Regions from separate parts of the Homo sapiens genome. Here regions 2, 3, 4, 5, 6 and 7 are each linked to region 1. Evidence: promoter capture Hi-C in human tissues and cell types (Jung and others, 2019). All regions are on one chromosome and are shown on one strand. The core of a region is centred on a gene start or on the middle of the fragment in contact, and the rest is flanking DNA. Distances in the headings are between cores, read along the strand shown.

What was found. The method cuts DNA at HindIII sites, captures the fragments that hold promoters and counts their contacts. A contact is called where the count stands out against the background at its distance.
Region 2: a contact is called between a fragment that was not itself captured here and the fragment with the promoter of ENOX1 in region 1, in 1 of the 25 tissues and cell types used here (mesenchymal stem cells).
Region 3: a contact is called between a fragment that was not itself captured here and the fragment with the promoter of ENOX1 in region 1, in 3 of the 25 tissues and cell types used here (hippocampus, lymphoblastoid cells and mesenchymal stem cells).
Region 4: a fragment that was not itself captured here is called in contact with the fragment with the promoter of ENOX1 in region 1 in 3 of the 25 tissues and cell types used here (hippocampus, mesenchymal stem cells and spleen).
Region 5: a contact is called between a fragment that was not itself captured here and the fragment with the promoter of ENOX1 in region 1, in 1 of the 25 tissues and cell types used here (lymphoblastoid cells).
Region 6: a contact is called between a fragment that was not itself captured here and the fragment with the promoter of ENOX1 in region 1, in 2 of the 25 tissues and cell types used here (dorsolateral prefrontal cortex and mesenchymal stem cells).
Region 7: a fragment that was not itself captured here is called in contact with the fragment with the promoter of ENOX1 in region 1 in 2 of the 25 tissues and cell types used here (dorsolateral prefrontal cortex and mesenchymal stem cells).

The regions. Positions count from the first base shown.
Region 1 is chr13:43,785,228-43,788,904 of GRCh38, forward strand. ENOX1 (ecto-NOX disulfide-thiol exchanger 1) reads right to left here and starts at 1,745. Exons shown (of 17, transcript NM_001347969.2): 1 at 1,425-1,745. The HindIII fragment of the contact is 9,406 bases long and covers 1-3,677 here.
Region 2 is chr13:43,281,581-43,285,257 of GRCh38, forward strand. All of the region lies in intron 12 of ENOX1 (ecto-NOX disulfide-thiol exchanger 1), which reads right to left. Among named protein-coding and RNA genes, the nearest start is that of ENOX1-AS2, 170 kb to the right of the region's middle. The HindIII fragment of the contact is 6,665 bases long and covers 1-3,677 here.
Region 3 is chr13:43,380,841-43,384,517 of GRCh38, forward strand. All of the region lies in intron 5 of ENOX1 (ecto-NOX disulfide-thiol exchanger 1), which reads right to left. Among named protein-coding and RNA genes, the nearest start is that of ENOX1-AS2, 66 kb to the right of the region's middle. The HindIII fragment of the contact is 4,530 bases long and covers 1-3,677 here.
Region 4 is chr13:43,399,306-43,402,982 of GRCh38, forward strand. The region is part of intron 5 of ENOX1 (ecto-NOX disulfide-thiol exchanger 1); the gene reads right to left. Among named protein-coding and RNA genes, the nearest start is that of ENOX1-AS2, 48 kb to the right of the region's middle. The HindIII fragment of the contact is 5,494 bases long and covers 1-3,677 here.
Region 5 is chr13:43,416,539-43,420,215 of GRCh38, forward strand. The region is part of intron 3 of ENOX1 (ecto-NOX disulfide-thiol exchanger 1); the gene reads right to left. Among named protein-coding and RNA genes, the nearest start is that of ENOX1-AS2, 30 kb to the right of the region's middle. The HindIII fragment of the contact is 4,481 bases long and covers 1-3,677 here.
Region 6 is chr13:43,436,965-43,440,641 of GRCh38, forward strand. The region is part of intron 3 of ENOX1 (ecto-NOX disulfide-thiol exchanger 1); the gene reads right to left. Among named protein-coding and RNA genes, the nearest start is that of ENOX1-AS2, 10 kb to the right of the region's middle. The HindIII fragment of the contact is 6,833 bases long and covers 1-3,677 here.
Region 7 is chr13:43,455,979-43,459,655 of GRCh38, forward strand. All of the region lies in intron 3 of ENOX1 (ecto-NOX disulfide-thiol exchanger 1), which reads right to left. ENOX1-AS2 (ENOX1 antisense RNA 2) reads left to right here. Exons shown (of 4, transcript NR_120399.1): 3 at 2,479-2,492; 4 at 2,952-3,510. Among named protein-coding and RNA genes, the nearest start is that of ENOX1-AS2, 9.0 kb to the left of the region's middle. The HindIII fragment of the contact is 4,663 bases long and covers 1-3,677 here.

The DNA.
Region 1 (3,677 bases), core at 495-2,994:
AAGTACCAGCCAATATTACCACTTTGCTTGACAGAGCCGTCTCCAACAGCACGCACCCACCTCTCGAGCGGGCCCACCAGCTCAGCTTTCCAAGCTCGCTCACCTGCGTCTCTCCTCCAGGAATCAATTTCCTTCCCACTTTCTCCACCCTCTTCAGATCCCTTAAGCACGCTTCATTGCTTTCTCCAAACTACCAGACTCAAATCTGCAGCCCAGTTGGCCAGGAACCTTTCCATACGCACGTATTTCCTGCATTCTCCTGGGTCTGCTTTTAAAAATTGCTACCACCAAACAAATGCAATCTTAACAAAATTGGGATTACAAAGCCAGTTTTTTTCATGTAATGTTACAGCAGTGAAAGATTGAGGGAGAGAAAAGGAGAGAAGCAGGAGTGTATCTGGGTGAAGAAGCGTGGCTCAGTGGCTATACAGTGAGACGCAGAGATTCCACAGAGCTGGGCTTGCCCACCTGTCGACCCCACTTTCCCCATGTGCTCGCCGCGGGATGACAACCACAACACTCCAGAACCACCCCCCTTCCGAAAGAGGGCGGGGTTACGCCTTCAGCCAATCAGGACCCGCGAGCCCCGGGTGTCCAACCTATGGGGTGGCTGTGGCCGTGCAGGGGGAGGACGTGGGGTGGTCTGGGAGGGGCCGCGTCCGTGGGAGGCTCGCACGTGTCGGGTCCGGAGAGGCGGGGAGGCGGCCGGCGTCCAGCGGCCGAGGCGCGGGCTCTGCACCCTGGCAGCGGCCGAGTCCGGCTGCCCCAGTGCCTCCTTTACCTCGCGTTGGGCCAGGCAGGGCGCGCTCCCGCCGACGAAGACCTGTCCAAGGTGTCCGAGCTCCCCGCGAGAGGGGACAGTCACGAATAACAACAGTACCCAGCGCAGACTAGGCGGGGAGGAAAGTTTCCGGCCCGCAGCAGAGCGGAGTCCGCCAAGGCTGGAGGAAAAGGGATGCAGAGCGGGAGGGTGAAAACCTGAAAGAAGAGGGCAGCGGGAACACTGTGTGGGCAGGAACGGGTCCCGGGGGCGACGCCCGCAGGGGGAGACGGGTGCGGGGTGCGCTGTCCAAGGTGCAGGGGAGGTGACTGGCGCGCGGCGGGCGCGGAGCCCGGAGCTGACACTGGCTGGCGGGCGGAGGGGAGAGCGGGGAACAGCTGTCTGGGGCGCTGGGCACCCCCGGGCGCGTAAAAGTGAGGGAGCTTGAGACGGGGCACGGCGGGGAAGGGCGTGGGGGCTGCACCGAAGCCCCCACGCGTCCACGCACCCCTCCTCACCAGCCTCACCTCTAGCTCCACTCCCCTCCCCCCTCGCCCACTCCCCTCTCAGTCTAGATCCAGGTGCCGTGGCGGGGGTGAGACCAGAGGACCCCGGCTCGGAGCCCGGACGCCCCAGGGAGGCTGCGGGCCCCGGAGCTGCTTACCTGGGGCCGCCGTATGGGGAGCGGAGGCAACCCGCTGCGCGGAGTGGGGCGCCGGGCGCGGCGCGGCTCCTCCTAGCCTCGGCGTCCTCCTCCTCCTTTGCTTCTCCCGGACTCTGTCCCGGGCACGGAGCTGGGAGACGCGGCCGGGCTGCAGTCGCCGTTCCCTCTGCTGCCGCCGCCGCTGCAGCAGACAGAGGACGCCCCGTGGCGGCTGGAAGCCTGTGTGAGTAGCGGCGCCCGGGAGAGCGGGGATCTGCTGAGGGGCGCTGGAGACTCCGCGGCTGGAGGCGCGCGGGCGTGCGCACGCGCGCCTGCGAGTGTGAGTGTATGGGTGCGCGCGCGCCCACGGGGTGGGGGAGTCGCGAGGGGAGGGGGAGAGAGGCCGAGAGATGCTCGTAGGGACCGAGGCAAAATTCTACGACCCCGGAAATCCGTAAACGCGGGGAAGGAGGATCGAACGCGTGTCTCGCTTGGAGAAGCTGCCCACGGGGCGGCAGCAGAGGAGGAGGGGAAGTCAGCGAGGCGCGCTAGGGCTCCGGATCCCAGCCCGGCAGAGCCGAGCGGAGCGCGCAGCCACCGATGCAGCAGAGGCGGCGCCCGCAGCCCACGGTCGCGCTGCCCCCTCTCGGGAGGGGCCGAGGCCGCTCGCTCCCGCCACCGCCGCCGCGGTCGGGACTGCTCTACTGGGAGCGGGGGAACCGAGAGAGGGACCGCACGGTTGCTACGGCGACCTTGGAGGGGCCGGGCCCGCTGAAGGGCCAAGAGAAGAACCCGGGCGCACGTGGCCGACTCCAGGCTGGAGCGGGCGTGTTACAGGATTGTGGGCTTGGGGTAGACGGTGGAATTGGGCCGCGTGGCCTGGGCAGATGATGCGGGGTGTGCGGCCCAGAGTGGCTCGGCCGGGGTGCGGTCAGCATTCAGGTTGGTAAGGGTGAGGGGATCCTAACCCCAGGTGACATGTTGCCTTTTTTTCCTCCTTGGAGGCTACTTTTTCTCAAAGTTACCCACTTCCCAGGTAAGAATGCCGGCCTCCTCTTTGTTAGGATTCAACTTAGCTGTGCAGGCATCTAAGCAGTGCCTCCTTAGAGTCAGGCTCGTCCAAGAACCGCTCCCACCACCTCCCCACACACACCCACATCCCCCGATCCTCCATCCCAACTACATTGTAATACTTCAGAAATAAATGTTTAAAGCACATTTACATTCTCTGCCTCTTAACAGATATATTGTCTTAGTAGTATACTTTTCCTTGCTTATTTTAAATTCTGAGTGGGATTTTATTCACACAAGCATTTCTTCAAGGGTCGTAAGGTCTGGGTAATACTTGAAATACCCTTTCTGGCAGGAATCCTCAATGCAGGGATTGTGTTTTGCACACTTTTGCATGCCTTCCAGTGCTTAGCATAGTACTCTGTACTTTGTGAGTTCCCTGTAAATGTTGAATGAATGACATTGTTTTCTAGCTTCACGTAACCTGAAGGCAAAGACTTGGATGCTGGGAAAGTCATTACCACCCCACTAGGCTTGCCTGATTTTAACTTATGCCATTTCCTTGTGTGTGGCTATTTTTCCCCCTGGCGGTCAGAACCCCAATGCAAAGAAAGAAAATAATACTTATCCATTGTGCACCCTTAACAAAGGATGCATGTAGAAGCACTCTGCAGGGACCCCAGTGGGATGCCCTGGGTGTGAGGGGGCCAAAGCTCAGAACCTAACCTCTCAAAATGTGAAAGTCAGTGTTCACCAGCAGTTTATACTGTCCCTTCTAGAGCAGAAGGATGGGGAAAACAGTTTTAAGAGAAATACACTTTTGTTTTTTGTTTTTTGAGACGGAACCTCGCTCTGTCACCCAGGCTGGAGTGCAGTGGCGCGATCTCGGCTCACTGCAACCTCTGCCTCCCGGGTTCAAGCGAATTCTCCTGCCTCAGCCTCCTAGTAGCTAGGATTACAGGCGCCGGCCACCACGCTCGGCTAATTTTTTTTTTTTTTTTTTTTTTTTTTTTTTTTTAGTTTTTAGTTTTTAGTAGAGACACAGTTTCACCATGTTTTCCAGACTGGTCTCCAACTCCTGACCTCAAGTGATCCGCCTGCCTCGGCCTCCCAAAGTGCTGGGATTACAGGCATGAGCCACCGCTCCAGGCCAGAAATACACATTTCTAATAGCTTATCAGGTACGCATTTTTCTCCTGTAAAGAGTAGTGTTCATGGACACTGACCAATACATGCAGGGTCACCCCAGACTGCTAATTCTGC
Region 2 (3,677 bases), core at 413-2,912, 500 kb before region 1:
CCCCTACTCTCAGTTGGCAATTGCATACATTTTAACATTGCATGTGATGTTTACCCGTGAAAATTTCCAATCACAAGTTTTGCTGAAGTCATCTGAAAGTCCAGCTGCTCACAGTGATGGCACAAAAAAGATGATCATTTGTGATATATGGGTATTTAAGTTTTCACTGTAGAAATACGGGAGGGATAACACCAAGGTTAGTGTTGATGACTTTTCAAAAGGGAAGAATAGGGAGACCACGTTTTTAGGGTCTGCTGGTAGACTTTATGTAGCAATCTTTTTCTGCTTCCAGGGACAATTTGAAAATGTAAATCATGATACAAAGCAAGTGACATAAATCAGTTGCATTCTAGTCCAAGTGATTATATGAGGATTGAAAGAGATTATATCGGGATTAATCTGGGAAGGTTAAAAAAATCACATTTTGTCACTGAGGTTGCTGGGGATAACCTTTAACAGGATAAGAAAGTTCCTTTCTATTCCAAGTTGTTAAAACCTTCATTTTTCTTGGTTGTTTTAGTTTAAAATCATGAATGGATATTTGGTGGCCATCAAAATGTTTGTATTATTCTGGTTTTGCCTGTTAATGAGATCTATTACATTGATAGATTTTTCAAATGTTGAACTTACCTTGCATTCCTAGAATAAATCCAATTTGGTGATTTATAAAATACCAGATTAATTTTGCTTTTCTAAAGGAATTATAAATCTTTGTTTATAACTGAGCCTGGCCTATAATTTTTTGATTTTAACTTTTAACTGTCCTTGTTTTATTTCAGTATTAAGTATACTAGCCTTACGAATTAGTTGGAAAGTGTGTCTTCCTTTTGTGTTCTCTGAATGAGTTAGTTAAAGATTGGTATTCTTTTTTCTTTTTTTTTTTTTGAGACAGGGTCTTGCTCTGTTGCCCAGGCTGGAATGCAGTGGCTCGACTGCAGCCTCGACCTCCTAGGCTCAATGATCCTCCTGAGTAGCTGGAACTACCGGCATGTGCCACCATGCCTGGCTAATTTTTAAATTTTTTATAGAGACAGAGTTTTGCCATTCTACCCAGGCTGGTCTCAAACTCCTGGGCTCAAGGGATCTGCCTGCCTTAGCTTCCCAAAGCGCTGGGATTACAGGCATGAGCCACCACACCCACCCTTGGTATTATTTTTCTTAAATGTTTGGTAGAACTTGCCTATAAAGCAATTTTGGGTCTGTTGCTTTGATATAAAATTTTAAGCTATTGGCCAGGCGCGGTGGCTTATGCCTGTAATCCCAGCACTTTGGGAGGCTGAGGCGGGTAGATCACGAGGTCAGGAGTTTGAGACCAGTCTGGCCAATATGGTGACATGCCATCTCTACTAAAAAAATACAAAATTAGCTGGGCATGCACCTGTAGTCCCAGCTGCTCGGGAGCTGAGGCAGGAGAATCGCTTGAACCCAGAAGGCAGAGGTTGCAGTGAGCCGAGATCACGCCACTGCATTCCAGCCTGGGTGACAGAGCGAGACTCGGTCTCAAGAAAAGAAAAAAAAAAATTTAAGCTATTAATTCGAGCTTTCAATTTCTTTCCAATTCAGTTTTGATTAGTTATTTTTTCCTATTGAAATTTGTCTGTATCTCCAAAGTTAAAAAATTGTCATAAAACTATTCCTAATATTCTTATATTTCTTTAGTCTCTGTTGCATCTATAGTTATACCTTATTTTTAATACTGTTTTTAGGTTGTTCTCTTTTTTTCTTGATACATGTTGCCAAAGATTTTCCATTTTATTCATCTTTTCAAACATTTGGCTGTGTTGATCTTCTCTATTGTATGGTTGGTTGCTATTTTAGTTATTTTTATTCTTTGTATTATCCCCTCTACTTTGTGTTTATTATTTTTTGTTTGTTTATTTGAGACAGGATCTCACTCTGTTACCCAGGCTGGAGAATACAGCGGTGTAATCATGGCTCACTACAGCTTTGACCTCCCAGGCTCAAGGGAATTATCCCACCTCAGCTTCCCAGTTATCTGGGACCACAGGCACGTGCTACTATGCCTAGCTAATTAATTTTTTTTTTTTTTGTACAGATGGGGTCTCAGTATGTTGACCAGGCTGGTCTCAAACTCCTGGGCTCAAGCATATCCTCCCGCCTTGGCCTCCCAAAGTGTTAAAATTACAAGTGTTAGCAACTGTACCTGGCCTATTTTTTTTTCAATAGAAATTGGATGCTTACCTCACTGTTACTAGTTTTTTTTCCTAAAACAAAGTTTTAAATTTTTCCTTTAAGTTCTGCTTTAGCTGCGTCCCACAAGTTTTGATATATTATGTTTTAATTATCAATTACTTCTAAGTATTTTTAAGTTAATTCTGATTTCTTTTTGAAGCTGTAAAAATGATGTATGTTTTAAACTTTCCAGATATACAAAATTTATTTTAGTTATTTTTGGCACTGATTTCTAACAATTTAGTGTGGTCAAAAAAATACAATACCACTCTTTTGACATCTGTTGAGATTTGCTTTAAGGCCTAGTATGGGATTAATTTTTGTAAATGTTCCCAGTATATTTGAAAAGTATGATTTTCTTTATATGTCCTACATATTGAGCTTATAGTAGTATATATTTACAATGTTATGGACTTCACAGTTAGGCCTTTACAAAAACTTCCTGAAAGTGAAGTTAAGTGGCACTGAAGATAAGAAATACAAACCGTTAGGAAAGAAATATAAACACCAGAGAGAAGAGGACAAGGTGCACGGAGAATGAGAGAACAAAATCATGGCATACCACCCTATGTTTAAATGACTGAAAAATGTGTAACACACTGACTCAGCAAATGACTCAGTATAAAATGTAAATCATGGGTGGAAATATACATATCTTAATACCATGAATGAGAATTCCAAAGCTGGCCAACGAAAGCCACTCTGACTGAATCTGAGTGATACCTGGTTTAAAATAAATTAAGATGGTAATGGTGGTGGAGGGCATAAAAAATAGAATGCAGTTGTCTGGTGGGTCAGCAGGATGAATTAAGAGAACAAAAGGAAGAAGAAAATATGATAATTTATTTTTATCTCTTTGAAAAGTCACTGTGTTGGTCTTTCATTTATAAGCGCTACTTATTACACTCTTCCTTGGAAACTTACTGACAAAGTTCAAATATACTTTCTTCTTTATTTTCTTCCCCAGTAAATAAGGCTGTTGTGGCTATTTGTTAAAGGTGTGTGTGTGTGTGTGTGTGTGTGTGTGTGTGTGTGTGTGTAAGAGAGAGAGGGGAGATAGGAATAGAGACAGAGACACAGAGAAGAAACAGAAAGCGCAAAAACTGGAAACTGGAGAGGTAATGAGAGGCAATTATAAAAGAGGAGATAGAAATATGTAGAGAAGGAGAGTCAGAGACACAGAGAGAAGAAACAGAAAGTACAAAAACCAGACAGTAATTACCAGATGGAAGAAGCTGCACATAGATAAGAACTTGACCATGCAGGGTGTATTCACTGATCAATTGAGTGAGATGGGTGGTCTGTAAAGTGAGGACCAGATTGGGCACTAACTTGTTTAAGTTTCCCTTGATGACTATTCAGGGTGCTTTGTTAAACAGAGGAGAAAACATAGTCTTTAACTAACCATCTAACATCTTGGAACTGAATTCCCAATTCCACACTTTGGTTACAATTCCAGACACTTTAACTGACTAAGTTTGGCT
Region 3 (3,677 bases), core at 561-3,060, 400 kb before region 1:
ATTTAACAAGAAAATATAACAATCCCAAATATTTATTCACTGAATAACAGAACTTCAACATATATGAAATAAAAACTAATAAAATGGAAAGCTGAAGTAGATGAATCCACAATTAACAGTCAGAAATTTCAACAACCCTCTCTTAATAATTGCTAGAACAAGTACATAGAAAATCAGTAAGGATATAAAAATCTAAATAATATCAACCAATTTGACCTAACTGACATCTATGGAGTACTTCACCCAACAAAACCAGAAAACACATTCTTCTCAAGATTACATGGGTATATTTATCAAGATTGGCCATATTCTGGGCATAAACCAAACCTTAATAAAATTACAAAAACACAAATCATATAAAGTGTATTCTGAGACCACAATAGTATTAAATTATAAAATAGTGATGAAAAATATCTAGAGAGTCACCAAATAATTAGAAAATAAATAACACATTTCTGAATAGCCTGTAGGTCAAACAAGAAACCAAAAGGGAAATTTAGAAGTACTGTGAATTAAAATAAAATTTCATGATATGCAGCTAAAACAGTACTTTAAAAATGTTTAAGGCACTAAATGCTTATATTAGAAAAGAAGAAAGGTCTTACATCAATGACCATGGCTTCTATCTTATAAAAAAAAAAAACCTTAAAAAAAAAAGAGCAAATTGAGCCTGAAATAAGCAGAAAAAAAAATTAAGAACAGGAATTAGTGACATAGAAAAACTATAGAGAAAATCAATGAAACCAAATGCTAGTTCTTTGTGAAGATCAATGAAATTGATAAAACTCCAGCCAGCCTTAGGCAGGAAAGCAGAGAAGATACAAACTGCTAATATTAGACATAAGGAATGTAACATAACTACAGTTCCCATACATAAATATCAAGGCATATTACAAAAATTGTATGTCAATAAATTTAACAACTTGGAATAGATTTCTTGAAAAACACAAATTACCAAAGCTCATTGAAAGAAAAACAAATAATCTATATAGCTCTGTATCTATTAAAGAAGTAGACTTTGTAGTTACAATTATTCCCACAAGGAAACTTCATGCCTAGATGACTTTGCTAGAGAATCCTACTCTAGTAGAGGTTAAATCTTAAGGAAAAAATAATACTAATTCTACACAAACTCTTCCAGAAAATTAAAGGGTATACCTTCCAATTTGCTTTATGATTCCAGCATTACTTTTGTTACTTAAATCAGATAAAAACATTAGAAGAAAGAAAAACTATAGACAATATTCAGCATGAACTTTGATGCAAATTCTAAACAAAATTTTAGCAAATTGAATATAGTATAATGAATAATACATCATGACTGAGTAGTTTATCCCAGAGATACAAGGTTGGTTTAACATTAAAAAGTAATTCACGTAATTTACCAAAGTAGTAGACTAAAAAAGAGAAACACACACACACGATCATCTCAATAGATGCAGAAAAAGCGTCTGATGAAAATCTGACATCCATTCTCTCAGTAAACTAAAAATCAAAGGAAATTTCCTCAGTAAAGGTTATGTACTTTAAAACTACACATATGATCATACTTAAAATGGTATTTCTTCATAAGGTCAGAAACAAGGCAAGGATATCCACTCTATTTCTATTCAGCCATCAGGATATATGACAACATGCGTGACTTTCAGAATAACTATATTGAGTGAAAGAAACCAGAAACTGAGTACATTCTATAGGTTTCATTTACATAAAATTCTGGAAAATGCAAAATAATTTGTAGAGACAGAAGATCAGTGGTTGTCTCAGGATGGGGATGAGTAAGAAAGGGGGTCTGAGTAGGTAGGAGGAAGAGATAACAAAGGGAACAGGAAATGTTTTGGTGTGGCTGATATGTCCATTATTTTGATTGTGATGATTTCACAAGTATATACATATGTCAAAACTTATGAAATTGTAGAATTTAAATATGTACAATTTATTGTATGTCAATTCATTAAAGCTATAAAATATAACAGATACTTTAGGTCATAGGTAAAAACGAAAACACTGCCACAGTGAACCAAGCTATATCCAGCCAAGGTCTTGGTTTCAACTAGGGAATGCATGATAGGAGGGCATGGTTGTCCTCCCTGGCAGCAACTTAAAAGCATCAGATATGCATATATAAAGCTTTTTAGTTTCCTAACAAGAGATACTTAATAGATCTCAAATTAAACAAACACAGCCAGTTATATGCCAATTCTATAGTTTTAGAAGTCAGCAAGCAGCATATTGGGGATTATGGATGAACTGAACAAAATCTAGCATAAAACATGGTACCAGACCTCAAAGGGTTTTGAAGACTGTCGATGATTTGGTAGAGTGATGCTAATTCTCACTCTCAACACAATCCAAGCGAGGAAATTTCTCCAAAATAAGATAAAAACTTGCAGGGTTTTAGGTGTCATTGTATATCTGAATTTACTCCACAGAAATTCTTCTCCCAACTTGTTAAATTTCAAGACTTCTCCTTGGAGCCATGAGCAGAATAAGAAAAACACAGATGGCTCAACTTCACGGTAATAATGATTCAAGGCAAGCAAACCTTCAGCTGTTTATATTTCAGATTAAAATAGAATTGAGGAGAGAAACATCATTCTGGGTGCTAAAATGAATATTAAGATAAAGCTAGTGTAAGTATTATTAATATTGCACTATTATTATTTTGGGTTTGCAATCCATAGGAAATCCATGTATGCTTCTGTTTGCTTCCCTTACAACTGGTATTTTAAATAAATTCTGCATGCTCAATAAATAGGGTCTATTTACTCAAAGGCGACAGACCCCATGGTACTCTCCACAAAGACTTCCCTCATGGCCTCCTGCTGCTGTTGTTTATAGGGCTGCAATTACAGAAAGGATTCTCAGCAGAACGAGCAATGACACCATTACCATCAACAGGAATTCTCCTGGCACTGTGGAGATTCTTTATTGAAAGAAATACAAAGCCAGTATGTTGCTAGTAGAATGCATGAATTTGTTGGGCAATGGCTTTCTCCTTCTGGACACCACCCTGCAGGTTAATGACTCTCAATTCTGAGCATCCTTCTTCTCTCCTTCCAGCAGGTGTTTTCACACCTTTCTAAGTTAAGTGTCCCAGAATGTAAAGGCTGCCACTACAGGGAGGCAGCAGGACACAATGCATGAGACTGATCGGCAGTGAAGCCGGACTGCCTGTGTTCACATCCCGGCTGCACCACTCACTAACAGTGTGACTTCAAACAGATTACTTAGCTTCTCTGTGCCCTGGTGTGCTTATTCCTAAAAATGAAGTAATAACAGCACTGATTTCACTGGGTGAGGATTAGATAAGGACTGAGATGCTTAGAAAAATGCCTGGCACATACACAATAAATGCAAGCAATTATTATTATTAACACAGCTTTGTTGACACAATAACATTTGTAGAGAATGAATGACAGCAGCTACTCTAAGCTGCCTCCTTATGGCAAGCACAGTAGGAACAAGAAATAGAAATACTTCCTCTAACAATGCAGCAAAATCTTCTGGGAGAGAGAACCATACAAGACCAGCCTATTAAATAACAATAATTATATTAATACCACCCATTACTGAGTACCTTCTACACACTGCAGTGTGTAAAATGCATCTATATATTATCTTATTCATTCCCATAACCCCATGAATTAGATGATATAACTTCCATTTTCCAGATA
Region 4 (3,677 bases), core at 299-2,798, 390 kb before region 1:
GGCTTTGTCCAAGGGTCAGCTATAGTGTCACAGAGCTATGATTTGTGGGTGTGCATTGGGTACATGTGGGTGCTTCCACGTGGCTTGCAGAGAATGGTTGTCACTTCTCCTCCAATAGGAGATGTCAGGACAAGGGGATCATTTTCTACAGGGGCCAAGTCTTCTCTTTTCATTCCCTTAAAATAGAAAGTCATCCAAGGTCACTCTTCTCCCCTTCCCCGTGCCTTCCTAAACTGCTCTCCAATGAGGGTAACACAAACTAACACATTTGATCCCTATAATATGTACCACACTTCACCGATTCTAGAAAAGGTAACAATTCTCTGATGATGATTATTCCCTCCTTCTTTACAGACAAACTCAGAGAAGTTAACTAACTTGCCCAAGTTTACGCAGCTAAGGGAACAAGCCTGGATTCAAACCTAAGACCTCAGGCTCTAAAGCCACCATCTGTCTCTTGCAGAGACAGTTCCTCAATGTTGAAGGAAAAATTTTTTCTCCTGAAAGACCACAGAAAGGATCCCCACATACTGCTGTAATAGGCTAACGCCCCTCTGTCCTTGCACTTTCCCATCTTTCCAACCCTCTGCTTGCCATCCTCAGCTCTGCCCATCCAGCCACCCCTCCACTTTCTTGCCTCATCAGCCCACCCCTTTTTTCATGGCTCCACTGCCACTCTTGTAGGAGTGTGTAGTCCAGCTCTGAAATTACTCTCCTGAAAATGCTCATGCCTTCTTTGTGCCCTTGTCCTTTCATTCTCACCACCTGTTAAAATCCAACCTTGGATAAACCCACAGAGAACTTCCTTCTCTGTGCCTGCCTACTGGGAGGACACAACAGTGCTGGAGAAAACCACGCAGGGCTCTCAAAGAGTGTCCAGACATTTTACCATATTTTTCTGGTCAGCTTCCTGTCTCTCCCCCAGTGAAACCTTCAAGGGTTCTCCCTTCTCTTCCAACCTTCCATTCCTCATCAGCCCACTTATCCTCAGCAGATGCCTGTCCTTTTCTGAGAAATGGAATCCATTAGCCAGGAACTCCCTCCACCTGAGTTACCAAATCAGCAATCCCACCTGCTCTGCATTCTGGACTTCCCATGCAGGATGTACATAGGTTGACTCAAGTCCATCTCATTTGTGTTAAACTTTAAAAATTCCAAGTTTCTGTTTTCTTTGAGAGAGTGTTACTTGCTTTCAGACTGCAATGTATATATTCTCTCCCATACTGATGATCACTTTTTGGTTATTGTCATAAACCTGAGTGCATGACCACCATAGTGTTATTCATAGAAGTCTACTTGATGTTACTAAGTTGTTCCTGGTTCAACTTTAGTACAATATCTAGATCACAGGACCCAGGTTCGAAAATGGAAATCTGCAGCATTCAAGGACAACAAAAAGTGATGTGCATAATAATTACATAATTGAAATCTTTAAATTTCAATGTAATACAAATAAATCTCTATGATTCTCCCCTACCCCCACCACGAATGATGTCTTTCCACCCAAGGTATTTATTTTTAAAAACAAAAGTGTAAAGATAGAGCTGGCCTTAGGCAAAAAACGTAGGAGACTTTGCTTTAATCATTTGCCCCCAAATCCTAATACAGTAGAAACACTTTAGGCAGATAGACCTGGTTATCAATTCCAGCACTGTTTCCTTCCAGCTGAGTAACCTTGGGTGAGTTAACTCACATCACCTAAACTCAGTTCCCTCATCTATAAAATGGGGTTAATAATATTTAGCTAGCAGAGGATTCAATGATGCAAGATATTAGAGTATTTGGCACATATTAGGTGCCAAATAATTATAGGTTTTATTATTATTCTTTTTAGTGTTCCTAGTAAAGTCACTCATATCATAGCCCCAGATCTTTAACTTCTTATATCCCTAGGCAATACATACATTCACTTTAAAAAGACTTTGTCTGTAAACTTCTGCTTCCAGCCACCAGAAAGTAACAAGGATAGAATTTATTCTCCTACTTTAAACAACTCAAAAATCAAACAAAATATATGAAATGACGGTTTTCAGATACTGTACAACAAAAAGTACAGGATAGTGATCATTGAGAGACGGGAAATAAATGAAGTGAAACTTATGATAGTCCCAGCCACTGTCTAGAAGGTTTCCAGGGCTTAATGCAAGGAAGAGAAACCAGAACAGAGCCTGAGGTCTGTCTGAATTAGACATCTGGGGAAACCAATGCCCCTGGAAATTTCAGGGCAGAGTACAAGAGAGGAAGGAGCCAATCAGAGAGAGAGAGCTTTGGAGATCTTCAGAGGTCCCCTCAGAGTCTGTGGCTGCATGTTGATTAGGAGAGACGGAGAGGGAAGTGCAAAGGCTGGGGCAAAAGCCACAGATGGAACCTTTCTGAAGCTCACAAAGGACAGGGAGTAGCTCAAGTTCTCGAGATCCAGAGAGAAGCAACCTCGCAATATGCCAGGAAAGAGTTCCCAGAAGTGTTTTGCCTCAGAAACCGGATGAAATTATCTCCAGTCTAAAGGCTGCTTAGATCCATTAACCCAAGTATAAAATCAAAGCCTTGAGAGAATCAAACTGTTTCCAAGGAACTTGACTGCATCTCAAAACAAACAAACAAACAAACAAAAACTTAAAAATATTTTAAAGAAGACAAAAAAGGAAAGAAAAAAAAATCCAGCACCTGACAACATAAAATTCACAACGTCTGGCAACCAATAATAAATTAGTAGGCATGCAAAGAAACAGAAAAATAAGACCTATCATAAAGATAAAAATCAATCAAGACAGAGATTCAGAAATGTCACAGATAATAGAATCAGTAGATAAGCACACTAAAACAGCTATTATAAATATACTCCATCTGTGCAAGAAGGTAGATGAAAGCATAACCATGATAAAGAAAGACAGGGAAGATACATTTTTAAAAAAGAAGGAATCTGAAAATATAATGCTCAATTATGAGAAAAATAAATCATGGATGTCAAATAAGGGGGCTGGAGGTCATAGTTACTCTTCATATCTAACTGATTGAAGACAGAAAATCTATAGTTTAGACAGTCTAAGGACCAAGTATAAAAGTGACTTTTCCAGGTATTATGCATTTTATGTAATTATTTATATAAATGAACCAAATTACATATTCATTCAACTATATAGTTACCAAGCACCCAGCTTTAATGATAGAGGAAATACAAAGATGATTAGCTACAGTTCTTTCCCATAGAAGAAGTCCAGCACAGTCTGTTAGACAGATGATAGAATAATTATATTAGCACATAAATGACATGTGCTTACAATTCAAGAATGCAGTATGTAACACACTGTAAACTAGAAGGCAGGCTGCAGAATAATAAAAGGAAATAAAAGCAAACAGTGGATCTGGAGCAGAAGTCCCCTACGCAATTAATCCATAGTTACAAATAAAAGACTTTGACATTAACCCAATGCAAAAATCCAATATACAATAATTCACATGCATGCACACACATATATACACACACTTATATCAGTATAGAAACACTCAAACTCATTCTAATATGGGAATTTAATTGTCTGGCTTTTCTTTCTACTCTCTGCTGAATTAGAATGTCCACTCTGAGCAGAGGATGCATTTCCTAGTGTGGAATGCAAATATTTTCCCTCAGCTTATTGGGCTGTTAAAGATACTGAAGCTTCTCTACTCCAGAGGAAATC
Region 5 (3,677 bases), core at 844-3,343, 370 kb before region 1:
GGCGGCCAGGTAGCAGCGATCCTCACTTCCCAGACAGGGCAGCCGGGCAGAGGCGCTCCTCACTTCCTAGACGGGGTGGCCAGGCAGAGACGCTCCTCACATCCCAGACCGGGTGGTGGCGGGGCAGAGGCACTCCTCACTTCCCAGATGGGGTGGCGGCCAGGCAGAGGCGCTCCTCACTTCCCAGACAGGGCGGCCGGGCAGAGGGGCTCCTCACATCCCAGACAATGGGCAGCCAGGCAGAGACGCTCCCCACTTCCTAGATGGGGTGGCGGCCGGGCAGAGGCTGTAATCTTAGCACTTTTGGAGGCCAAGGCAGGCCGCTGGGAGGTGGAGGTTGTAGCAAGCCGAGATCACGCCACTGCACTCCAGCCTGGGCAACATTGAGCATTGAGTGAGTGAGACTCCGTCTTCAATCCCAGCACCTCGGGAGGCCGGGGCGGGCAGATCACTCGAGGTCAAGAGCTGGAGACCAGCCCGGTCAACAGGGTGAAACCCTGTCTCCACCAAAAATACAAAAACCAGTCAGGCGTGGTGGCGTGCGCCTGCAATCCCAGGCACTCGGCAGGCCGAGGCAGGAGAATCAGGGGAGCCCGAGGCAGGGAGGTTGCAGCGAGCTGAGATCACAGCAGTACAGTCCAGCCTCAGCAACAGAGGGAGACGGGAGACGGGAGACGGGAGACGGGAGACGGGAGACGGGAGACGGGAGAGGGAGAGGGAGAGGGAGAGGGCCAATCTAATGGTTTTAATGACATACAACTTACTGTGGCTACCATGTGCCTGGGATGGTGATTCTAAAGTAAGCTCTGTCACATCTTAGGAATTTCCAATAGTCTCAAGGCTGCCGTGACATTGTTCACAAAATTTAAGTTGATTCGGTCACTCATTTTGGAAGAAAGGTAATACTTTTAATTAATTACCAACTAGTAATTTATGAATAGTTGCAAGAATGATTTTGGTACTTTGTTAGCATCTATTGTTCCTATTGAATACCTGCCTCTTTAAATGATTCAAGACCATAATGCCTAATTTATCATTCACATCAATTTCTCTGCCTTAGTTTTATTATTTCTAAACTATAGAAAAGATTAATCTTCTTAGCGATGTTTATTTACACACAGAGATGTGGGGAGTTAAAAATTATAGCTAATAAAGCACTCTGAATACAGTAGGTGATAATTATTACTATTTTATTTGGAAATGTAGTGTTTCCATTAAGATACCCTGGGATCTTTGTGTTCTGGTAGATAATTATGTAATTAATTCTAAAACAGTGAGTAACACTTGATATTTCTAAAAGTAAGTGTTGCCCTAGTTTTCTGTGCCACACCTCAGTTGGAGCACAATATTTCATTTTCCACCATTCCTTTATAAAATTATATGAGGTAGGCCAGGTGCGGTGACTCACACCTGTAATCCCAGCACTTTGGGAGGCCGAGGCGGGTGGATCATCTGAGGTCAGGAATTTGAGACCAGCCTGACCAAAATGGTGAAACCCTGTCTCTACTAAAAATACAAAAATTAGCCAGCAATGGTGGCGCATGCCTGTAGTCCCAGCTACTCAGGAGGCTACGACAGGAGAATTGCTTGAACCCGGGAGGCAGAGGTTGTAGAGCCGAGATCACACCACTGCACTCCAGCCTAGTTGCCAGAGTGAGACTCCATCTCTAAAAAAGTAAATACATAAAATAATATAATGTAATTTAAGGCTGGGCGCAGTGGCTCAAGCCTGTAATCCCAGCACTTTGGGAGGTGGAGGCGGGCCAATCACCTGAGGTCAGGTGTTCGAGACTGGCCTGGCCAACGTGGTGAAACCCTATCTCTACTAAAAATATAAAAATTAGCTGGGTGTGGTGGTGCATGCTTGTAATCCCAGCTACTTGGGAAGCTGAGGCAGGAGAATCGCTTGAACCCAGAAGGCAGAGGTTGCAGTGAGCTGAGATTGTGCCACTGCACTCCAGCCTGGGCAACAGCAAGACTCTGTCTCAAAAAAATAAAAATAAATAAAAATAAATAATACGATGTAACTTAAAAGATGTATAAATATTTTCTCTCTAGGTTTTTTCTGCCTATGCAACTACAAAAACTTTCAAGAGATTCATGACCAATTATGAAATTGGCAGTTTCTACTTACAGCTTTAATGAAGTATGAGCACCACAAAACAATCTGATACACAAAATGCCAAGGATAAAAGTACAGCTTTGTTTGGCCTTAACAGATATCTAACTTGTTTCCTGTTAAGATATATTCAAGTATAAAATCTCATACCAATTTCATAACTGTTCAACAAAATATATTTATGTTCAGTATTTCATTGGGCTAGATAATGGGGCAAATATTTTTTGAAACTTATCAAGTCTATGAAAATACTATTTGGCTTAAAAAATGGCACAGGTTTGGGAGGCTGAGGTGGCAGGATCACAAGATCAGGAATTTGAGACCAGCCTGGCCAATATAGTGAAACCCCGTCTCTACTAAAAATACAAAACTTAGCTGGGTATGGTGGCGGGTGCCTGTAGTCCCAGCTACACGGGAGGCTGAGGCAGGAGAATCGCTTGAACAATTTCTATAGGTATCAGCGATGCACACATCATGAATAATAAAACCTACCTGTAATTGTCCACAAAACACAGATTCCTGTTAAAGGAGGGTAGAGATCAGCTAGGTATTGAAAAATCCTTCTTATTGAAAAAAAGAAAAAGGCTGGGTGTGGTGGCTCATATCTACAACCCCAGATAGGAGCTAATATCTATAATCCACTTTGGGAGACCAAGGTGGGAGGATTGGTTGAACCCAGGAGTTTGAGACCAGGCTGGGCAACATAGGGCGATTTCATCTCTACAATAACCTTAAACAGTTAGTCAAGCATGGTAGTGCCCTCCTGTCGTCCCAGCTGCTCAGGACGCTGGGGTGGGAGGATTGCTTGAGCTGGGGAGTGAGGGGTGCAGAGGTTCCAGTGAGCTGAGATTGTGCCACTGCACTCTAGCCTGGGCAACAGATTGAGTCCCTGTCTTAAAAAAAGACAAAACAAAACCAAAAAAAAGCATGATTTTGTTTGGTCTAAGTCCTTAGGTTTATACCTACTTCAATAACAAAATAATTGTGGTGAAAGAATCAGATTTCTTAATGTCTTGTAAACAGTTGATACCAGGCCAGGCACGGTGGCTCATGCCTGTAATGCCAGCACTTTGGGAGGCCGAGGTGGGTGGATCACTTGAGGCCAGGATTTGAGACCAACCTGGCCAACATGGTAAAACCTCATCTCTACTGAAAATACAAGAATTAGCCGGGCGTGGTGACGTGCACCTGTAGTCCCAGCTACCTGGGAGGCTGAGGCAGGAGAATGGCTTGAACCTGGGAGGCAAAGGTTGCAGTGAGCCAAGACCAAGCCACTGCACTACAGCCTAGGCAACAGAGTGAAACTCCATCTCAAAAAGAAAAGAGCTGATACCAAAGGAAGCTTATTTCATATGGTATCAGCAAATTTCTTATTTTATAAGAACTCTCCATTAGCATTATCATGGTATATATTTACAGTAAAAAGAAAGATACATTTCCTTCCAAAGTTCACTCTCCTTTTCCATCACTAAGGAAATACCTAACTTCGATCTTCACATAGTCAGTGCCATACTCTCGAGGTTATGGAAATGTTCCACGGTTTAAAACAATATAGATA
Region 6 (3,677 bases), core at 371-2,870, 350 kb before region 1:
TAAATGGAACCAAGGACACGAGGGTAAAGACAAACACCAGTGTGTGGGAATAATTCCTAGAAGAATGCTGAAGAGGCCTAAATACAGGACTGGGATCGAACATTTTGAAAAAACATACCAAAGGGATGTTTATAGAACATATTTTTTAAAGTCTTCAAAAGAAGAACAAGGAAAAATAGCAATACTTTTGGGGAAGGCCATTAACAATAAATAGCAAAGATGACAGAACTGTTCAACTCCCATTTTGTGAATCCACCCCTGCAAGCAAAATAATCCGCACATTGGGAAGGGTAGAATAAACAAAATACGCATGGAATTTCAGCCTGACGTGGTGATGGGGGGATTTACTCACCAACCCAGAGCTAGCATCAGACATTCACAGAACAAGCCAGTAAGACCCAATCCTGCAACCAACATAATATGACACTAGGTTAAATGCTTCCACTTTCCTTTCCCGAAAATCTGAGCTTGTGGCAACTTTATCGGGATTCAATCATTTGACCTTGAGAACTTAGTGCAACTATGGAAATGACCCATAATGACTACCGGAATTCCAAAGAGTTGGTGCCAGTTTTAGAATGACAACTTACTAGGTTTGTGACCTGGGGCAAAAGATACAGGATGAGACTGATTTTCACATATTAGAAGTAAAGCGGATATAGAAGGTGAACTAGATTAGTTAAGCAATACGCCAAAGAATGGACTTAGTGCCAATGGTTAGGGTTTATGGCGGACCGATTTCAGGGTCATCCATTCTTTTTCCCATTCATTCAGTGAATATTTAGTAACTTCCACTGTGTGCAGCACCATTTTAAATTCTAGGTGAACAAGAAACTCACTCCAAAGAAGGGAGACCTGGAAAAATAGGTCAGTATAAAGCAGATAAATGGGTAAATGCATTAAAACGCAGGTTAACAGAAACAACACAGAAGAAAAAACAATTAACTTTGAAGGTAATTTTAGATTTTCTCCAAGGTTAAATAGAGGAAAAAATTGGTGGGGAGGGATAATAAAACACCTTAAAATGTGTTTCAGGCATGACAACACTATGATCAAAAATACTTCTGTGTGAAAAGTATGTGGCATGATACAGAAAATGAGTATTTTTGTTTGGCTGTAGTTTAAAGGGAACATGGTGAAAAAGTGGAGAACGATGCTAACAATGTAGGCAGGGGTCATGCTAAGGAGTTTAATTCCTACAGGCAATGGAGACCAAATGGAATATTTTAAATGGGGAGTGACAGGGTCAAATTTGTAATTTAGAGCAATAATTCTTAGAGAAGTACAGAGTAAGCTCTACAGGAAGACAAGCCTGAGGAGGGTAAATCTATTTGGAGGTAATTATGGGAGACCAGACAAGATGAGGCAGTGGCAGCGGAGATGAAGAGAGGGAACAGATTTAAGAGGTACTTCTGGAGACAGAAGAGATAGCAATTGGAATGTGGAAGTGAGAGGGAGTGAGTGACATGTGTGAGGGCCCAAGAAGGTAACATTCAAAAATGAATCCCAGGTTTCCACCTCAAAGGAATTGTTGGATAAAAATAGGGATTTCCATGGCACAAGAACACTTAAAGGATTAGTTTAGTTCAGGAGGAAAATGTAAGTTTTCCACAGAGCAATCAAATGCTTCAATATTAAACTTACAAACCATACAAAAATGTATCTGTCCCCTGGATGGCTATTTGCTTCCCTCAGTAGCCACAAAGCTATGTTGTATGCCTGGCACACAGTGGCTCTCAACCTCTGATGGGCATTGGACTTGAATCAAATTGCCTGAGGAGACTTTTCCAAATGCATATGCTTGGTCTTCACCCCCAGGAGATTCTGATTTAGTGGATCTGATGTGAGGTGCAGGCATTTTTTAAAACAGCTCCAAAGGAGATTCTGATATGCATCCAAATCTGACAGCCACTGTAGTATACAGTCGATCCATAGCTCTTTGAGTGATTAGTTAAAAGGAGGAAGGGAAGGAGAGGGCTTCTTGAAATTTTTGAAGAAGCAGCTGGTTGACTTTCTATGCTCAACAGTGTATTATTGTGTGAGAAATTTACTAAATGAACTTTCCTGTCTTTTAATCTTTTTTTTTTTTTTTTTTTGAGCGGAGTTTCATGCTTATTGCCCAAGCTGGAGTGCAGTGGTGCAATCTCGGCTCATTGCAACCTCTGCCTCCCACCTCCCGGGTTCAAGCAATTCTCCTGCCTCAGCCTCCCGAGTAGCTGGGATTACAGGCACCCGTGGGTCACACCTGGCTAATTTTTTTGTATTTTTTTTTTCACTTTTTTTTTTGAGACGGAGTCTCACTCTGTCACCCAGGCTGGAGTGCAATGGTGAGATCTTGGCTCACTGCAACCTCTGCCTCCCAGGTTCAAGTGATTCTCTGACCTCAGCCACCACGCCTGGCTAATTTTTGTATTTTTAATAGAGACAGGGTTTCACCATGCTCGTCAGGCTGGTCTCGAGCTCCTGACCTCGTGATCTGCCCACCTCAGCCTCGCAAAGTGCTGGGATTACAGGCGTGAGCCACCGTCCCTGGCCTTCCTATCTTCTAATCTTAAGGGTCCACAAATGTGATGTTATAGTGTTCCTGGCTTCAACTTGCAGACAGAACACTGGCTGAGAGATTACTGGACTCACTCAAATTCAATCTTTTCTTATATTTTTTTACATTATTGATGAACATCCCTTCTTATAGCAACTCGTTCTTTAACATTTTTTGTGTGCTTTTACATATTTTTCATTTACTTTTTTCTCAATGTCTATTCCTCCTACTAGACTGATGTTCTATGAAAGCAAGCATTCTGTTTCTTTTGTTCACTATCGTGTATGTAAGCACTGACCTAGCAAAACACACACGTTCAGTCAATAAATGAGCAACGAGCCAGATTTTTCTGGTGAAACATTTGAAGCCACAATGCATTATTTTCAATATGCCTATAGGTACATCCATGAGTGTATTATAGATTCAGAAAATGGTTTCAGAAATAATCAAAAGCATACAGCTATAGGCAAAACATGTTTATATATATGTATATTTTTTACCTCGAGGAAACCTTTGACTCCCAAAATTTTTATGTTATGTAAGACAGCCCCTTACATCAGCAAATAAAATTAAAAATAGGGAATAAATATCTAAAAGGGTGAATTAGGCACAGAGGTGTAGCCTGAGAAATAGAAGCTAAACCTCGTTCCTGTTCCTTATCTATTAATAGATCTCAGAAGCCTGAACCTTGAAGTCTGATAAATCTAGAGCTTTCCTGTCATTTATATCTAATGATCAATTCTAACAGTTAGACAAAAAACCACTAAATGAATGAAAAGATGAATTATTGAGAAACTTAGAGGGTCTTTTAGCATGGCAATTAAAGAAGTAGAAACAAGTGGCTAACTTGAAGAGCCAGAAATGTTAAAAATCTCTGTATTAATAGTGATTACTGAAGTGTTTTTAGGTTCCAAGTTAAACATTTGCTGACACTGCTTACTACAATATGTAGGTAACTCACGACATTTTTAAAGACATTTTACTGCCCTGAGATTGAATGTGAGTTTTTTTAACAAAAAAATTATCAAAATCAGAATTCTACTTTACCTAAAATTTGCCAAGCAACTACTATCTGCTACTACTTTCGCATGTATCATCTCATGTAGTTTCCATAAAAACTGTACTTTACCAATCAGAA
Region 7 (3,677 bases), core at 835-3,334, 330 kb before region 1:
TCAGCAGTGTGAAAACGTTTGGACTATCTACTTTCTAGAAAGTTTGACTTCTATACCTCTGAATCATTTTATATTCTTCTATAAGTTTAATTTCCAATACCTCCTTCTTATTTTCTAATTGTTCCTGTTCTATAGAATGCTTTTTATTTTATAGATATAACAGTATCTCTCATCTTTCTGAAGTTACTATAGGTTTTTAAAGGCTTTCATTTGCTTCCTGAAATATCTATATCTTCTCTGAGCTCCTTTAGCCCCTTTCTCTGTTTTGATCTCTATATTTTATTCTATATTTTATGTCAGTGGATATCCTCAAATATCTGATGGCCCTTCATTACTCATTTATATTTAAGAAATATATATGTTTATTTCATATATATACATTATATATGAAACAAACGATTCATTTATATTTAAAAACAGTGGGTCTAGTTTCCAAGGGAAACCCTGAGTGTAGACAGGGTGTGCTTTTTCCTTGACTGGCATCCCTCCGAGGTAACAGAGTGGGGAATCTAACCATTTCAACAGGGACTCTGCCAATCAGTCATTTTTTGGACTGAGTTTCTGCAGATAAGAATCTCCAAACCCCTGCCTAAGGAGCCAGTCCCTAGCTGTAGGTTCCCTGGGAGCTATGTCAGGGAATAGTCCAGGAGGGTTTCACCTGTTCTCTCTGTGGAGTTTCATCCTCTCTCCTGGGCCCAATCCCTGAGTCTAGAGTATCTCTGATTCAATGTAGCCTAAGACTATCCCTGATACCTCACATAGGGTTGGGGAATTGGTAGAGTCAGTGTGAGCTAGGGAGGGCAGGGCCTAACTACTCCATATACTCTGTTGGTCTGAAGCTCCTGGCAATCAATTCTCCTTTTTCCAGTCTCATGACTCCTAAGCCTCCACAGCATCCCGTGCATGAATCTGAAGGCTTTGCTCAGTGCACCTCAGCTATTCCTCCTCCATCACTCTGCTGTCTTCCACAAATTGCCTGATATCTCACATTCAGTAGCCTCTCCTCTGTTCTCTCATTTGCTTTGTGTCCCTGCTTTGTGGTTTTTAAAATTCTTTACTAATTTCAGTGAGATTTATTTTTTGTTCTTTACTAATTTTAATGAGATTTATTTTTTATTCTTTACTAATTTTAGTGAGATTTCTGGAACAGGAAGATATGAAAGCATGTGTTCAATCTAATAAAACCAGAAGTTTCTAGTGTTATACATTTTACTTTGTAGTTATATGTACTTATGTATTTTGTTTTGGTCTAGTTTGTTTGTCCAGAGAACTTTATGAGTTACTTGGACAAACTAGTAACCACCTCACAACTACTGTTAAGGAGGGTATTGACAAAATCATTTTACTTCTTTGTTATTTTTTAGGGATTATCAGGCAAGGTCAAGTTGACTTTCCATAAATGTTATCTTTATCCAGATAACAGCATTTTGTTATCTTGGCTCCAGAAGTTTGGACAAATAATCAATTTGAGGTAGACGCATATCAATTTATCAATAAGAAGGAAGGAAGACTATAAGGAGGAGGGAAGAAAGAAAGCAGAAAGGGAGGGAGGGGGAAGGAGAAAAAGGAAACAGACATAAAAGATTTTAAAACAGAACAGCAGGAAGACTGGCCCAACTAAATAACTATACTAAGAAAAGCTATGTATGTTCACTAAATAAGAAGATAAATTTCGGAAAATCATCTGGCTTTAAGATAATTCCAAACAATGATCACTGACTTGGAAGGCAGTTAAGCAATTTATGTCACTGAATGTTAATGGTCAAACTACGTTTTATCAGTCAACAAAATGTACCCAAAATGCATATGAAAAGCAGTATAGCCTGCAACAGAACCTATCACATAATGATTTTTCACAATTACATGTCCAGACCAACTTCTAACTATATACTGACTCTTACCACTCTGAAATATATCTATTTTTTGGCTCAAGAATATATGTGTATATGTATGTACCAAGGTATATATGTGTGTATTCCTCCCCTCATCTCCCAAAGAAATTTATGTTAGCTTGCAGGTAATCCTTTTACTTGAATATATGTTTATTTTCCTGCTTATATTTCTTATAAATTTGTCTAGCTCAAATTATGTAGTCCTCTATCCTCTGTCATACTCAATTATGGACCAATAACTTTTTTAAAAAAGTTAACTATGTTGTCAACAACATCACTTCCAATGTAGCCATCATCATATCTTTGAGCTTAACAAAAAGCTTGACTTTACAGTCAGATTGACCTTATTTTAAATCCCCTGTCTTCCATTTACTAAATAAACTCCCCGATAGGAAAATGGACATATTCTCTATTTTGCAGGATTTTATGAGAATTAAATCATACAATGCATATAAAGCACCTGGCATACTGTAGGTACCCAATTAAAAAAAGCTATTCAAGTCAGAATATGAGATGATATTGAAACCTTAAGCTGTCTAAAAGTACATCTTTTCCAACTGACTAATTTTTCATTTCCATTTTTTAGGCATCGCATCACTGGTAAGCTGGTCACCTGGAAGCAACGCATCAGTTAGCCACTGAAAAGGGGTGTGCAGAGCTCTTACAGAAAATTGAGAAAATCATTATATTGATATATTGATTATATTAAGAAAATCATTATATTGCTATCTACTTTTATATAAGTAGGGGAAAGGGAGGACTGGACAAAAACAATAAAGGAAAATATTTGGCCCAGCATCAGTTTCTTGACCCCTTTAGAATTCTATTTAACTACAAAATTAGGAGGTTATATGAAGTCCCTCCAAGTGTTCAGGACAAAGAGTTCTGTGGTTAGATGATTTTGAAACACACCTCGATCGTCTCACACCTCCCCCTCCCCATTCTTGAAGCTTTGAAACACATATGAGTTTATTCAAGGTATCTGTCCCATTTTGTTTTACCTTCCGTTATACAAACTTACTTGACTACAGACTCTCCCCCTTTTTTCTTTTCTTTCAGGTAATATTTATTGACATACTTTGGAAAAGACTGGATGAGTTGCTCTGCGACTTCCCACTCTAACATATGTTTCTCTGAGTTTCTACAACTTCAGCTAAATGTTTTAAGGAAGAAAAGAACAACAGAATATGTGCTAATTTTGATTGATTGATGCTCCCTCCTATAGCAGCATACAAATTTTAGAGTGGGAGAAAAATCTATTACGATTTCAATGAAATGAGCTATTTTATCTTGTCCCTATGTGGTACCATCAACATTTTAGACAGATGAACACCAAACCATTGACTGAATTGCTGCATAGTGGATTTGCCTTGATTATAAAGACAGTTGAATGACCAGGGTACCTCTGGCAATTTTGGCAATCAATAAGTAACATGAATCAACTATGTAGTGGTCAGACTGGCTACCCAGTGCTCAATCAAAACAGAAAATAACAGAGATAAGTTAATCCTTAGGTTGCAGGACTATACCATGATACCAGCATAAAACTCAAATGGACATTCATGATGAAAAAATGTTAATGCTATCATTATACAATAAACTGCTAAAAGTATTTTTATTAGTAAAATACTTTCATTTTTCTATCAATCTAACAACACTTATTTTTATCTGAAAGGAGGGTACTATGCTAAACGTCACTGGGACTAAAAGGATGTAGAGTAGGAAAAGGGCCAAAGATCCTACCAGAAAATGATCTAGGAGCCATATGTTAGTTCTGTCAGTAAT